Regions from separate parts of the Homo sapiens genome. Here all the other regions are linked to region 3. Evidence: promoter capture Hi-C in 16 types of primary human blood cells and fetal thymus (Javierre and others, 2016). All regions are on one chromosome and are shown on one strand. Each heading gives the region's core, a stretch centred on a gene start or on the middle of the fragment in contact. The rest is flanking DNA. Distances are from core to core; before and after follow the strand shown. Region 1 holds the start of IGBP1 (immunoglobulin binding protein 1). Region 2 overlaps COX7B (cytochrome c oxidase subunit 7B). Region 3 holds the start of FTX (FTX transcript, XIST regulator).

Region 1 (4,552 bases), core at 203-2,702, 4.2 Mb before region 3:
AACTTGTTTTGGAAAAAGAATTATGCTACTACAAAAAGTTTAAGTACCGTTATACTTTCATGATTGTTAAGTGCCCTAAACTAGGATTTTAAAAAGTCTCCCATGCACAACAGGAGTTTAATATGATAAAGTGTTTACACACAAAACACAGCAAACGACTCGTTTTTATTATTCCTTTTTTTCTTTCTTTTTTGTGAGACAGAGTCTCGCTCTGTCGCCCAGGCTGGAGTGCAGTGGTGTGATCTCGGCTCGCTGCAGCCTCTGCCTCCCGGCTCACTGCCTCAGCCTCCGGAGTAGCTGGGGTTACAGGCCCGCGCCACCATGCCCAGCTAATTTTTGTATGTTTAGTAGAGACAGGGTTTCACCATGTTGGCCAGGCTGGTCTTGAACTCCTGACCTCAGGTGAGCTGCCCACCTCGGCCTCCCAAAGTGCTGGGATCACAGGCATGAGCCACCACGCCCGGCCATTATTCCTTTTTTTCTAACCACTTTTTAATCTTGGTATTCTTTCAGAATAAGATGAAATGCAATGCTTAAAATGACAACTCTAATATATAACAGGCACTCTGAAAGTAATTGGCATCTCCCATAAAGACCGTCATTTTGGCTGGGCACACTGAATCACGTCTGTAATCCCAACACTTTGGGACGGTGAAGCGGGTGGATCACTTGACCTCAGGAGTTTGAGATCAGCCTGGGCAACATGGCGAAACCCCGCCTCTACAAAAAAATACAAAAATTAGCCAGGAGTGGTGACTTGCACCTGTAGTCCCAGCTAATTGGGGGGCTTGAGGGTAGAGGATCACTTGAGTCCAGGAGGCGGAGTTTGCAGTGAGCTAAGATCGTGCCAATGCATTCCAGCACTCCAGCCTGGGTGGCAGAGTGAGACCCTGTCTCAAAAAAAAAAAAAAAAAAAGACTAATTTTGAAAGCCATAAAAAATGACTTACAAAGTTTAAGACCAAATTAAGACTGTGCACATTTTTTTCCTCTTAAGTAACAGTAAAGACATGTTTTAATCCAAGCAAATGCAGAGAAGCAAATTATCTTTACTCTCACAATTACTACATTTCTAAGTCTCCTCCACAAGTACTATCTTTTTCTTTATATTCCCTGCCAAGCCTGACCCTGAAAGGTCAGTTTACTAGAGGTGCCAGATAAACCAAATAGGTAATTCGCCAAAGCCTCACTTCCTTCTTAGTTTATAAAGCAGGGGTTGCAAGGGAAGGTTTATTAGAATCACCTGGGAAGCTTTTTCAACCTACATGTGTGCCACAGCCTCCTCTCCCTCTTAGGAAGCACTGTTCTAGTTTGGGGCTTCAATCTGTCCCACATTAAAGGTCTTCATCTTTCTAAATCCTACCCAACTGAAGGTTAATGGAGTAGAAACAATTGAACGCAGAAGTCACTGACTTTGTCACAAACTGGCTGGACAAGTCCCTTAACCTTTCTGGTCTCAAGTTTTTCCTCCGATTTTGGGGGTTCCCTTTAAACTTTGACATTCTTCTATGTGACCGCATGTCATGTCTAAGAAGCCTTCTGAACTACTCCTAGCATGGGATGACTTGCCCTTTCTTGCTTTTCCAACAGCCTGTGCAATACAACATATCACCTATTTTATACTGTCCTATATTGCCCTCTAGTTGTTTTTTAATGAAGCTTTTTTTCTTCTCAACGATATGTAGTTTAAAATACTAGTTTAAAAGTTTATTTTCAGGGGTAGACAGTGTGCCTGCTACTTAAATCTCCTAGGACAATTCAGGCTGCGTCCTAAGGTAATCAGTATGTATTTATATTGCTTTGTTCAAAACAATGACGTCCCTTCTTTGAAGTCCTGAAATTATGTTTTCCATCAGTTCTGTCCAGTAGAAATATAATGGGAGCTACAAATATAGTTTTAAATTATCTGGCAGGCACATTTACAAAGTGAAAAGAAAGAAGTACAATTAATTCTAATAATATATTTAATCCAACATATCCAAAAGACTATCATTTCAACATGTAGTCCATGTAAAAAGTATTTACATTTTTCATTCTTTTTTTTTTAAATGTCTTTGAAATCTGGGGTGTTTTTTACACTTGCAGCACATCTCGATTCAAAATAGCCACTTTCAAGTGCTTAGTAACCACATGTAGCTAGTAACTACCTACTGAACAATGCTGTTCTGCATAAGTTGGCTGCTTTCCAAACTGATCACTTTTTTTTTTTATTCAGATAATGACTGATACTGAGTACTCAGGCTAGCCAGAGTGGTGCAAAGATGAGTCAAATTCATTCTGATAAGAGAGATTTGTAAGTCACTAGCAATTATACAGCGTGGTAGGTGCCATGATAGAGATGCATAGGAGAAACCCAGACTTGGCGGCTGAAGGGCACAGGGTGGAAGGCGGTAGAGAGACAAGGAAGGTTGCACAGAAATAACATTTGATGTAGGAACTAAGTGCACGAAGGGAAGCCGGCTGTGCGGTGACCGGAGTTGCAGGTTGCCAATCTTGCTGAGGGGGGCTCCACCGGACGCCGGCCTACGGGTCGTAGGCGTGTGTGGGGTGAAGGGGGAAGAGGACGGGAGAGGATTGGCTGGGAGGAACCCGGAGCTCCATCTGGTGGGTGGACGGAAACCGCAGGGGGGCGCTACTTGCACTTCGCGCTCAAGCGACCGGATCTTCAAACCGTGGGAGTGGTGCGGCGGCTAGAGTCCCTGGACTCCTCAACCTAGGGAGCTACTCGCGAGGTAAGGGGCGCGCCAGACTGGCTCCTAAAACGCACTCGCTCGTCCGCACTCCTCGCGCTCCGAATTCAGCCTCGCCTCACCCGGGCTTCAGAGCCCACAGAACTTCTCAGCCCCGTGTCGGCGACGAGGAGCTCATGGTAAAACAGCGCCTAGGGTTTTGCTTGTTTGTTTGCTTTTAACAGATGCCTACGACTTGTAACGGGCTGCCTGGTAAAATGAGTCTATGGAAACGGTTGCCAGGGCCGGCTAACAGCGGCTCCCGGAAGTCCTTTGATGCTTTGTTAACAGTGAAGCTACTGGACCAATGAGGTGCTTCTTCCGGTTTTGTCCGCGCTCGCCTAATTCTTCTTTATCAAGGTTGCCTTTGACCCCGGAAAAGAGATCTTCCGGGTTCCTCTCTCCCCAAGATGGCTGCTGAGGACGAGTTACAGCTGCCGCGGCTCCCCGAGCTGTTCGAAACTGGTAGACAGTTACTGGACGAAGTAGAAGTGGCGACTGAACCCGCCGGTTCCCGGATAGTCCAGGAGAAGGTGTTCAAGGGCTTGGACCTCCTTGAGAAGGCTGCCGAAATGTTATCGCAGCTCGACTTGTTCAGGTATGGGGGAAGATAGTAATAATGGCTGAGAACGAAGGTAATAATGGTTACCAAGGGTGGAGCCATTGCGCCTGAGTGGAGGGGACCTTTAGTGGTGAGAACGTTTCGTTCCTACTTACCACTGCGATCTTGTGTACATTGTTTACATTCCCCACCTCTCTTCCCAGATGGTTGATATCTTACGACTCTGCTTCCTAGCGTCTGCTGATTGCATAGGCATTGGGTGTGAGCCCTCAGCCACTTTCATTGAGTGAAACTGGCCGCTGTTCCCCGTGCCTCCTCCCTCTGGTCCACTCCCAGCCCAGCCTCCCACTCCGTCCCCCAGAAAGCAAGGGCCACAATTTGAATGCCTAGTCAGGCTTCACTGCCTCCTTTTTGCTCTTCCAGCCGAAATGAAGATTTGGAAGAGATTGCTTCCACCGACCTGAAGTACCTTTTGGTGCCAGCGTTTCAAGGAGCCCTCACCATGAAACAAGTCAACCCCAGCAAGCGTCTAGATCATTTGCAGCGGGCTCGAGAACACTTTATAAACTACTTAACTCAGTGCCATTGCTATCATGTGGCAGAGTTTGAGCTGCCCAAAACCATGAACAACTCTGCTGAAAATCACACTGCCAATTCCTCCATGGCTTATCCTAGTCTCGTTGCTATGGCATCTCAAAGACAGGCTAAAATACAGAGGTGGGTCAATAGCTATAATATGAGGCCTGCCCAATGGCGGTGCTTTTCAGGGGCATGCTTTCTTGGCGGGTGGTGGGGGGCCAGAATGGTATGTGTCACTTTCTTGGTTCTTATTGAGCATAGGCCCTAGGGAGAGCAAACTTTCCTGAGTTTTTCCAAGAAGCCTCTGCTTTTGTTGAGATGATTATACCTACTTATCAGACCCTTACTACCTTATGGTTGGCAACAGCAGCAATGTAGTTTAGCAGAGTGTCTCCCAACCTTTTCCACATCACATCATAGCAATGTTCATATGGTACAGTGGGGTAGATGTCTCTGAAAGGCAAAGCTAGGCCATTTTATGGTCCACTGATTGAGGAGCTCTGTTCAGACTACTGGAGTAGATGTGTAACATCCTGAACTGATCTTAGTCCTGGCACAGCTTCATTGTGTGACCTTGGAAAAGTTGCTTACTTTCTTAGGTTTTTTTTGTTGTTGTTGTTTGTTTTTTAAACAACATTTAATGGGTGGTCATGATGTCTAGGAACTATGCTAGGCACTGGGGA
Region 2 (4,037 bases), core at 320-2,819, 3.6 Mb after region 3:
GCACCACCATGCCCGGCTAATTTTTAATTTTCAATTTTTTTGTAGAGACAGGGTCTCACTATGTTTCACAGACTGGTCTGAAACTCCTGGCCTCAAGCGATCCTCCTACCTTGGCCTCCGAAAGTATTGGGATTACAGATGTGAGCCACTGTGCCTGGCCCATTAATTTTTTAAAAATCAAGATTACTCTAGTTGTGGCGAGTTTTTTTGTTACTGTAGTAATTTTACAGTCATAAGCATTTAGTGTGCTTTAATTTGAAGTTCATTTGAGTTCATTTGCCCTTGTATGTTGTAAGTTGTTGGGCTCTATTGAGTAAACTTTAATGAAAATTTAAGTCATAAGTATTCAAATTAATCAATGGGAGCCAAAATTTCAGGGGTTATGCAAATACCACTTTGTAGAGAATGTTACTGACATCATTCATTCTTTGCTTTTTTCCCCCAACACTATTATGAAAACTCTCAGACATACTGAAGAGTTGGAAGAATCGTATGAACACCCATATACCCACCACAAAGATTCTACAGTTAACATTTTGCTATTTGTTTTATCATGTATTTGTCCATCTGTCAATTCATCTTATTTTTGTTGCATTTCAAAGTACACTGCTTTAATAGCTACAATATGTTTTAACATTTTATTGAACTACATAATACTGTAAAATTAACTTCCTTGGCTTTCCTGATTGGCAGTATCAATCACATATGTTTTCTTTACCTGACAATTGATAATATGCTTCTGTATTCTTTTTTCGTTTTCCTGTAAGTTCGAAGCATTCAGCAAACAATGGCAAGGCAGAGCCACCAGAAACGTACACCTGATTTTCATGACAAATACGGTAATGCTGTATTAGCTAGTGGAGCCACTTTCTGTATTGTTACATGGACATATGTAAGTACTATTGATTAATAATTTCTGTTTCAGATGTTTTTCATTCTCAGTCTATGCATTCAAAGTGTCTTAACATAGTAGTGTACATATCTAGTTAGGAGGGACTTGAGAGATTGTGTAATCTAATTACCCACACAGTGCAGGGGATTTTTTCCCCCCAGCATTCATCCATCTTCTGTTCTTAACATTCCCAGTAATAAATTGCTTACTGGATCACAAGGCAGCCCTTTCCATCTTGTGTAGCTGTTTTTTTTGTTTTTGTTTTTTTTTTTTTTTAAGAAGAAGTCTTGCTGTGTCCCCCAGGCTGGAGTGCAGTGGTGCGATCTTGGCTCACTGCAACCTCTGCCTCCTGGGTTCAAGCACTTCTTCTGCCTCAGGCTCCCAAGTAGCTGGGACCACAGGTGTGTGCCACCAGGCCTGGCTATTTTTTTTTTTTTTTTTTTTTGAGACGGAGTCTTGCTCTGTTGCCCAGGCTGGAGTGCAGTGGCGCGATCTCGGCTCACTGCAACCTCTGCCTCCTGGGTTCAAGTGATTCTCCTGTCTCAGCCTCCCAGGTAGCGGGATTACAGGCGCCCTCCAGTACGCCTGGCAGATTTTTGTATTTTTAGTAGAGACGGGGTTTCACCATGTTAGTTAGGCTGGTCTTGAACTCCTGACCTCAGGTGATCCGCCCGCCTTGGTTTCCCAAAGTGCTAGGATTACAGGTGTGAGCCACTGTGCCCAGCCTTGTGTAGCTGTTAAAAGGATCATATGGTGAGTTAAAATCTGCCTTTTTCCTATGCTACCCATTGTTCATTGAAGCACAGAAATTCTGACCCACTTCCATATAACAGCCATCAGATAATAGAAAATTGCTATCATATCTCCTCAATTTTCTTTTTCAAATTAAACATCCTTAGTTCTATCAGTAATTTTTTTGTTCATGGTTTCCAGGATTTTTACTGTCTTGGATCGCCTTCCTGGACATAACTTCACTTAACAATTTTTCTTTTAAAATTTTACACTCAGAACTTAGCACAGTATTCGTGACAGATGAGATGTAATGTATCTTTTTATATTTTAGTTTCTTTACATCTTACATTTAACAATCTATCTTTCAGTCACTGTTACTTACTGGCTAAAAGTAGGAGTCCTGAAGTCTGTGTTTTTTTTTTTTGTTTTGTTTTTTGTTTTTTTTTTTTTTGAGATGGAATCTTGCTCTGTCGCCCAGGCTGGAGTGCAGTGGCGCGATCTCTGCTCACTGCAAACTCCGCCTCCCGGGTTCACGCCATCCTCCTGCCTCAGCCTTCCGAGTAGCTGGGACTACAGGTGCCCACCACCATGCCCGGCTAATTTTTTGTATTTTTAGTAGAGATGGGGTTTCACCGTGTTAGCCAGGATGGTCTCGATCTCCTGACCTCGTGATCCACCCACCTCGGCCTCCCAAAGTGCTGGGATTACAAGCGTGAGCCACTGCGCCCGGCCCGAAGTCTTAATAAATGCATAAGTTGGTTTAAAAAGATACAAATTAATCCTTAATGTAATAAACTTTATTTAAATAAATAGGCCTTTTTAGTTTTTGTTTTGATCTTCCTGAAATCAAATATTAAGATGTGTGCCTAGGCTGGGCATGGTGGCTCACGCCTGTAGTCCTAGCACTTTGGGAGGCCCTGGCGGGTGGATCACCTGAGGTCAGGAGTTTGGTACTAGCATGGTGAAACCCCATCTCTACTAAAAATACAAAAATTAGCCGGGCGTGGTGGTGGGCACCTGTAGTCCCAGCTACTTGGGAGGCTGAGGCAGGAGAATCGCCTGAAGTTGGAGGGGGTGGAGGTTGCAGTGAGTTGAGATCGTGCCACTGTACTCTAGCCTGGGCGATAAAGCGAGACTGTCTCAAAAAAAAAAAAAGTCTCAAAAAAAAAATTAAAGTGTGCTTAATTAGAAGGATAAACAGATGTTGAACAAATGTTTGATCAGAGGAGCTTTTGGAGGTGAAATGTTCCTTAGTGATACAGAGAATATAAAATACTCTGGCAGTTACTTAGGTAGTTGTGGTTGAGGGAATCAGTGTATTGAGTGGGTAGTATAGAAATGTGAAGTATAAATTTGAATTAAATAAAATTTAAAAATTCATTTCCTTGGTGATACTAGTCATATTCCAGGTGGCTAGTAGCCACATGTAGCTAGTGACTACTGTTTTTAACAGTGAAGATCTAGAACATTTCCTTCAGCTCAAGAAGTTCTATTGAACAACAGGACTGCTCTAGAAAATTAGGACAGCAATCAGGTTTGGCCTATATGGAGGGTATTAGATCCCAGGTGAGTTTCTGTGTATTTTTAACCTATAGAACAGAATATCTGTCATTTTCAAGAAATAGTCTCCGAGAGAGTGTACTCTGGTTTAAACACGTAACTGACAGCATTTTAATTCTTACAGGTAGCAACACAAGTCGGAATAGAATGGAACCTGTCCCCTGTTGGCAGAGTTACCCCAAAGGAATGGAGGAATCAGTAATCATCCCAGCTGGTGTAATAATGAATTGTTTAAAAAACAGCTCATAATTGATGCCAAATTAAAGCACTGTGTACCCATTAAGATATGGCATTATTGAAGAAATAAAGTACATTTGAAACCTTCATTGTAGGTTTTGTTTCTTTGTAAATGAAACTAAGCTTGATCACTTTAGCCTTTATGTTAATATTAAAGTCAAATGCTGTGCAGCTTCTTAAATAGGTTTTTTTTTTTTTTTTTTTTTTTTTTTGGGACGAAGTCTCACTTTGTCCCCCAGGCTGGAGTGCAGTGGCACCATCTCAGCTCACTGCGACCTCTGCCTCCTGAGTTCAAGTGATTCTCCTGTCTCAGCCTCCCGAGTAGCCAGAACTACAGGCACATGCCATGACGCCCAGCTAATTTTTTTTTTTTTTGAGACGGAGTCTCACTCTGTTGCCCAGGCTGGAATGCAATGGCGTGATCTCGGCTCCTGCAACCTCCGCCTCCCGGGTTCAAGCGATTCTCCTGTCTCAGCCTTCCAAGTAGCTGGGATTACAGGTGCACGCCACCAGGCCCGGCTAATTTTTGTATTTTTAGTAGAGACGGGGTTTCACCATGTTGGTCAGGCTGGTCTCGAGCTCCTGATCTCGTGATCCACCCACCTTGGTCTCCCAA
Region 3 (4,337 bases), core at 328-2,827:
CAGAGCCAAGTACAGCGACCCAAGATCGGAAAGCCAGAGAGCCCTCCGAATGCGTACTGCCCAAATGTGGCCTGTCTCCAAGTGCTCCCTTTTTACGCATTTCCTACGCACCGCCAGCTGCCGCAACCTTTTGCAGAGTCATCATCGCCTCCTCATTTTTGTACCCACTTACCGATAGGCCACTGAGAGGCTAAGATTCTGGGTTAATTTCTAGTGGATCTGGCCACAGCATAGGAGAACTCCAACTCAGGTTGATCCCTTCACTCAGCTAAAAAGGTAGTTCTCTGCAAGGCCTGCTAGCCCAAGATGGCCAAGCAAAGACAGCTTACCTCCCCCCTCGCCATTTTGCAACCTTAATTACCCGAATGCTGAGCGCCTCCCCTCCCCGGCACTCCGTCTGAAATACGCATGCGCGCCGCTTCCTCCTTACCGTTCTCCCCAACCATCCAGATGTTGTCTCAAATATGCATGAGCGCCACCTCTACCTCCCAAACGCTGGTACCAACTCCTAGCAACTTTGCGTTGTTAAATATGCCTGCGAGTCCTTCACTTCCCGACCTTCCAACCCTCCAACCCCGACGCCATTCAAGCCTTGCGCATGCGTGCCTCCCTCTCCCCACCCCCGCCCCACTGGAGCCCGTCCCCTTAACTCAGGTCTTCTCAAATACTGTAAGCTTGAGCGCCGCCCCTCGGCGCCGCGCCTCCTCATCCAGCCTCTCAAATACCCTGCGCACCGCGATAGTCCTCTCTCTTCTTGCTCCCATTTGTATACAGTATGCATGCCTGATGCTATCTGGACGTGTTTCTCGCCACAATTCTGCCCCAGTGCCCAAGGAGAGCCATTACCAGCCTTCCCTAATGCGAGTAGATGCGATAAACTAGGGAAGTTGAATCGGGGAAAGAAGGCGTTGCAGGTGATCAGAGTGAATCCCAGATCTAGATGGAATCGGTCCCAACTCCAAGGGAGGGGGCTAGAGTACCCCAGGATTCACATAAGACCGGTCAACCTGAACAAAGGCAAGGAAAACTTTCACAAACCATCGGATGAACATAATCCTAAGGCCTCGCCCTTTAAATACATCTGCTACAAATGACGAACCACAAATGTTTTAAACAGGGAACATTATGGAAAACACCGATGCTCAGGTGCCTTGACTCTAGTTAGAGGAAAGGAACCCGCATTCCTTTCACAATGGGAAGCAAATGCTCAACATCCTTTTGGAAAACTGGGGCCTGTAACGTATTCCATTTTTTCCTCCCGTGAACTGGAAAAATGCACAAATTAAGGATCTTCCTGGCCCAAGTTCCCTCCGCCGCCCTCCATGTTCTGTTCTTCCCCTACATCGTTCCTTTACCTCCTGGTTGAATTCAGTGTCGTAGCAGGAATTCTTAGAGCTGGCCGTCCCAAGATGGGGTGGAGAGAGCGGCATGAAAGAGAGAGAGAGAGAGAGACACGCCTGAATGGCAGCAGCAGGCCTTAGCGGCAATGGACAGCAGGCACAGGACCAGCTTTGCCTCGAGCCGCAACGCTGATGCCAGAAAAGGACAACCTCTCCAGAATCGCCGCAGTGTGCTTCCAGCGCATGCGCTGCTAACGCCCCTTAACCCCCCCTCCGCGCCCCGCCTCCCCCACGCGCCGCTCTCCAGCCTCTAGGAGTCTAACCCTTAGCGGTCCACCGACCTCCTTCACTTCTTTCCCAGGACGCTATCCCACTCTGCTTCTTCCACCTTTCCCCTCCCCTCGGTCACACTGGCCTCCACCATCATCCCTCCCTCAGCCCATACTTCTTTCGTCAATCCCTCTCCCATTATTCTTAGCCCACCATCTACCTTTATTTCCTCTGCTATCGTTAGTGGTCTACCCTTCAATTCTTCACTTTCCCTGCCAGTCTGCAGCCCTCTTGGGCCTCTTACTCCTCTCCTCCTATGCCTGATGTTGAAATTTGTAAAAATTACCGCAAAAATTTTTTTTTAAATAATTGTAGCCCGGGCGCGGTGGCTCACACCTGTAATCCCAGCACTTTGGGAGGCCGAGGTGGACGGAACCCTTGAGTTCAGGAGTTCGAGACCAGCTCGGGTGACATGGCGAAACCCCGTCTCTACAAATAAATACAAAAATTAGCCGGGCGTGGTGGTGCGCACCTGTACTCCCAGCTATTCAGAAGGCTGAGGTGGAAGAATCACTCGAGCCCAGGAAGTCGAGGCTACAGTGAGCTATGATTGTGCCAGCTATGATGTTGCCAGCCTGGGCAACAGAGTGAGACCCCATCTCAAAAAAAGAAAAAAAATATTTCCACACATCCTCTCCAAAGCAGCTCTCAGGGTGAGCTCAACCAGCCTGTCTTGGGCAAAGAGAACACCTTTTTGATGATGACCCACAGGGAAGATCCAGAGACAGGGAACCAGAACAAAAACTGCAAAAGTGTTCAATCAATTTGGGGGTAAGAGGCAGTAGACCACCAACATGGAAAGCTCTTTTCTTTCTATTCACAACCCTGGTATTGTCTGGACATTAAAAATGAGATTCAATGTCCTTCACTGCTTACTACAAGGCCTGTTCTTGTCTTCTGTAAGAACTCAAATATTAATTTTGAGGGAAATGGCATTATTTACTTAAGAGGCTCTGAAATAGATCCCTCTTTGGGTGTGAACTAGAAAGAATACAAAATAATATTTTGTTTCTCTTTATTATGTTTTACTTTGGTGTCTGGTTCTTATTGCTTTCTAAAAGAGCCAGTTTGGAAATACCAAAAACTGAGACCCGCAAATTCATAAATCCTAAAACTCATAAACTTATACATCACCATCCTCTCAAATTAACTTAAGAATGTTATATCAACATTATTCAGAGAAAAATGGGTTTGCATTTGTTATATAATACGCCCAAAAAATTATACAACAATGTGCATATGAAGAAGAAAAAAGAGAAATAGGCATGCATTAAATAAAAAAGAAATGCCGAAATCTCAGTGGTACAAAGAACCTCTTCTAAATTAAAATAATCATTTATTATTACACAAAAGTTAAAATATAAGAAATTTTACCCCAAATTCTACAACACTATTTTAACAAATGCTCTTATCTCTGTTATTTTTCTGTTTTAATGGTTTTATTAATATATAATTTACATATCATACAGTTAACCAACTTAAAGTGTACAATGCAATGGATTTTAGTATATTCACAGAATTATGCAGCCACCACTACAATCAATTTTAGAATATTTTCATCACCCCAAAAAGAAACTTCATACCCATTAGTATTGTCTTAGTCCATTATGTACCACTGTAACAAAATACTGCAGACTCGGCAATTTATAAAGAACAGAAATTTATTTCCTCACAGTTCTGGAGAATGGGAAGTCCAAGACTGAGGAGCTGGCATCTGACAGTGGCTTTCCTGCTACATCATCCCATGGTGGAAGGGCAAAGAGATAGAGAAAGAGAGAGTGCGCGCAAGAGGGGGCCAGAACTCATCCTTTAATAAGGAACCCACTACTGAAATAACAAACCCACTCCCTCAATAATAGCATTAAGCTATTCATAAGAGTGGTGCCCCCATGACTCAAACACCTCCCTTTAAGCCTCACCTCCCAACACCACCACATGGGGCATCAAATTTCCAACATATGAACTTTGAGAGACATATTCAAACCATAGCAAGCATCTTTGTGTTCTCTTATGATTTTTGTTCAAATATATAATGTTTTGGCTGGGCGTGGTGGCTCATGCCTGTAATCCCAGCACTTTGGGAGGCCAATGCAGGAAGATTGCCTGAGACCACAAGTTCGAAACCAGCCTTGGCAACATAGCAATACCCTGTCTCTATTTAAAAAAAAAAAAAAAAAGAGGTGGGGGCCAAGCACAGTGGCTCGCACCTGTAATCCCAGTACTTTGGGAAGCCAAGGCAGGCAGATCAGTTAAGGTCAGGAGTTCAAGACCAGCCTGGCCAACATGGTGAAACCCCGTCTCTACTAAACATGCAAAAATTAGCTGGGCGTGGTGGCGGGCACCTGTAATCCCAGCTACTCGGGAGGCTGAGGCAGCTGACTCGCTTGAACCTGGGAGGCAGAGGTTATAGTAAGCCGAGATCATGCCACTGCCCTCCAGCCTGGGTGATAGAGTGAAACTCCATCTCAAAAAAAAAAAAAAAGGAAAGAAAGAAAAAGAAAAAATGTATATATAATGTTTTAACATTAACTTTTTTTTTTTTTTGAGACAGTCTTGCTCTGTGGCCCAGGCTGGAGTGCAATGGCACGATCTCGGCTCACTGCAATCTCTGCCTCCCAGGTTCAAGCGATTCTCCTGTCTTAGCCTCCTGAGTAGCTGGGATTACAG

Evidence for each region. Contacts are between HindIII fragments. The CHiCAGO score rates a contact against its expected background, and 5 or more counts as called.
Region 1: a fragment that was not itself captured here is called in contact with the fragment with the promoter of FTX in region 3 in 3 of 17 cell types (fetal thymus, total B cells and activated CD4 T cells); the score reaches 11.9 in fetal thymus.
Region 2: a contact is called between a fragment that was not itself captured here and the fragment with the promoter of FTX in region 3, in 1 of 17 cell types (neutrophils). The highest score is 5.9, in neutrophils.

The regions. Positions count from the first base shown.
Region 1 is chrX:70,130,810-70,135,361 of GRCh38, forward strand. IGBP1 (immunoglobulin binding protein 1) reads left to right here and starts at 2,638. Exons shown (of 7, transcript NM_001551.3): 1 at 2,638-2,731; 2 at 2,914-3,326; 3 at 3,714-4,007. The coding sequence starts at 3,139. RefSeq lists an enhancer at 3,057-3,516. The HindIII fragment of the contact is 408 bases long and covers 1,249-1,656 here.
Region 2 is chrX:77,901,876-77,905,912 of GRCh38, forward strand. It overlaps COX7B (cytochrome c oxidase subunit 7B), which reads left to right. Exons shown (of 3, transcript NM_001866.3): 2 at 768-892; 3 at 3,309-4,037. The coding sequence ends at 3,386. Among named protein-coding and RNA genes, the nearest start is that of COX7B, 4.4 kb to the left of the region's middle. The HindIII fragment of the contact is 3,945 bases long and covers 1-3,542 here.
Region 3 is chrX:74,291,997-74,296,333 of GRCh38, forward strand. It overlaps FTX (FTX transcript, XIST regulator), which reads right to left and starts at 1,578. Exons shown (of 7, transcript NR_028379.1): 1 at 1,356-1,578. It overlaps LOC124905199 (a long non-coding RNA gene), which reads right to left and starts at 600. Exons shown (of 2, transcript XR_007068266.1): 1 at 1-600. RefSeq lists an enhancer at 42-832. The HindIII fragment of the contact is 8,135 bases long and covers 673-4,337 here.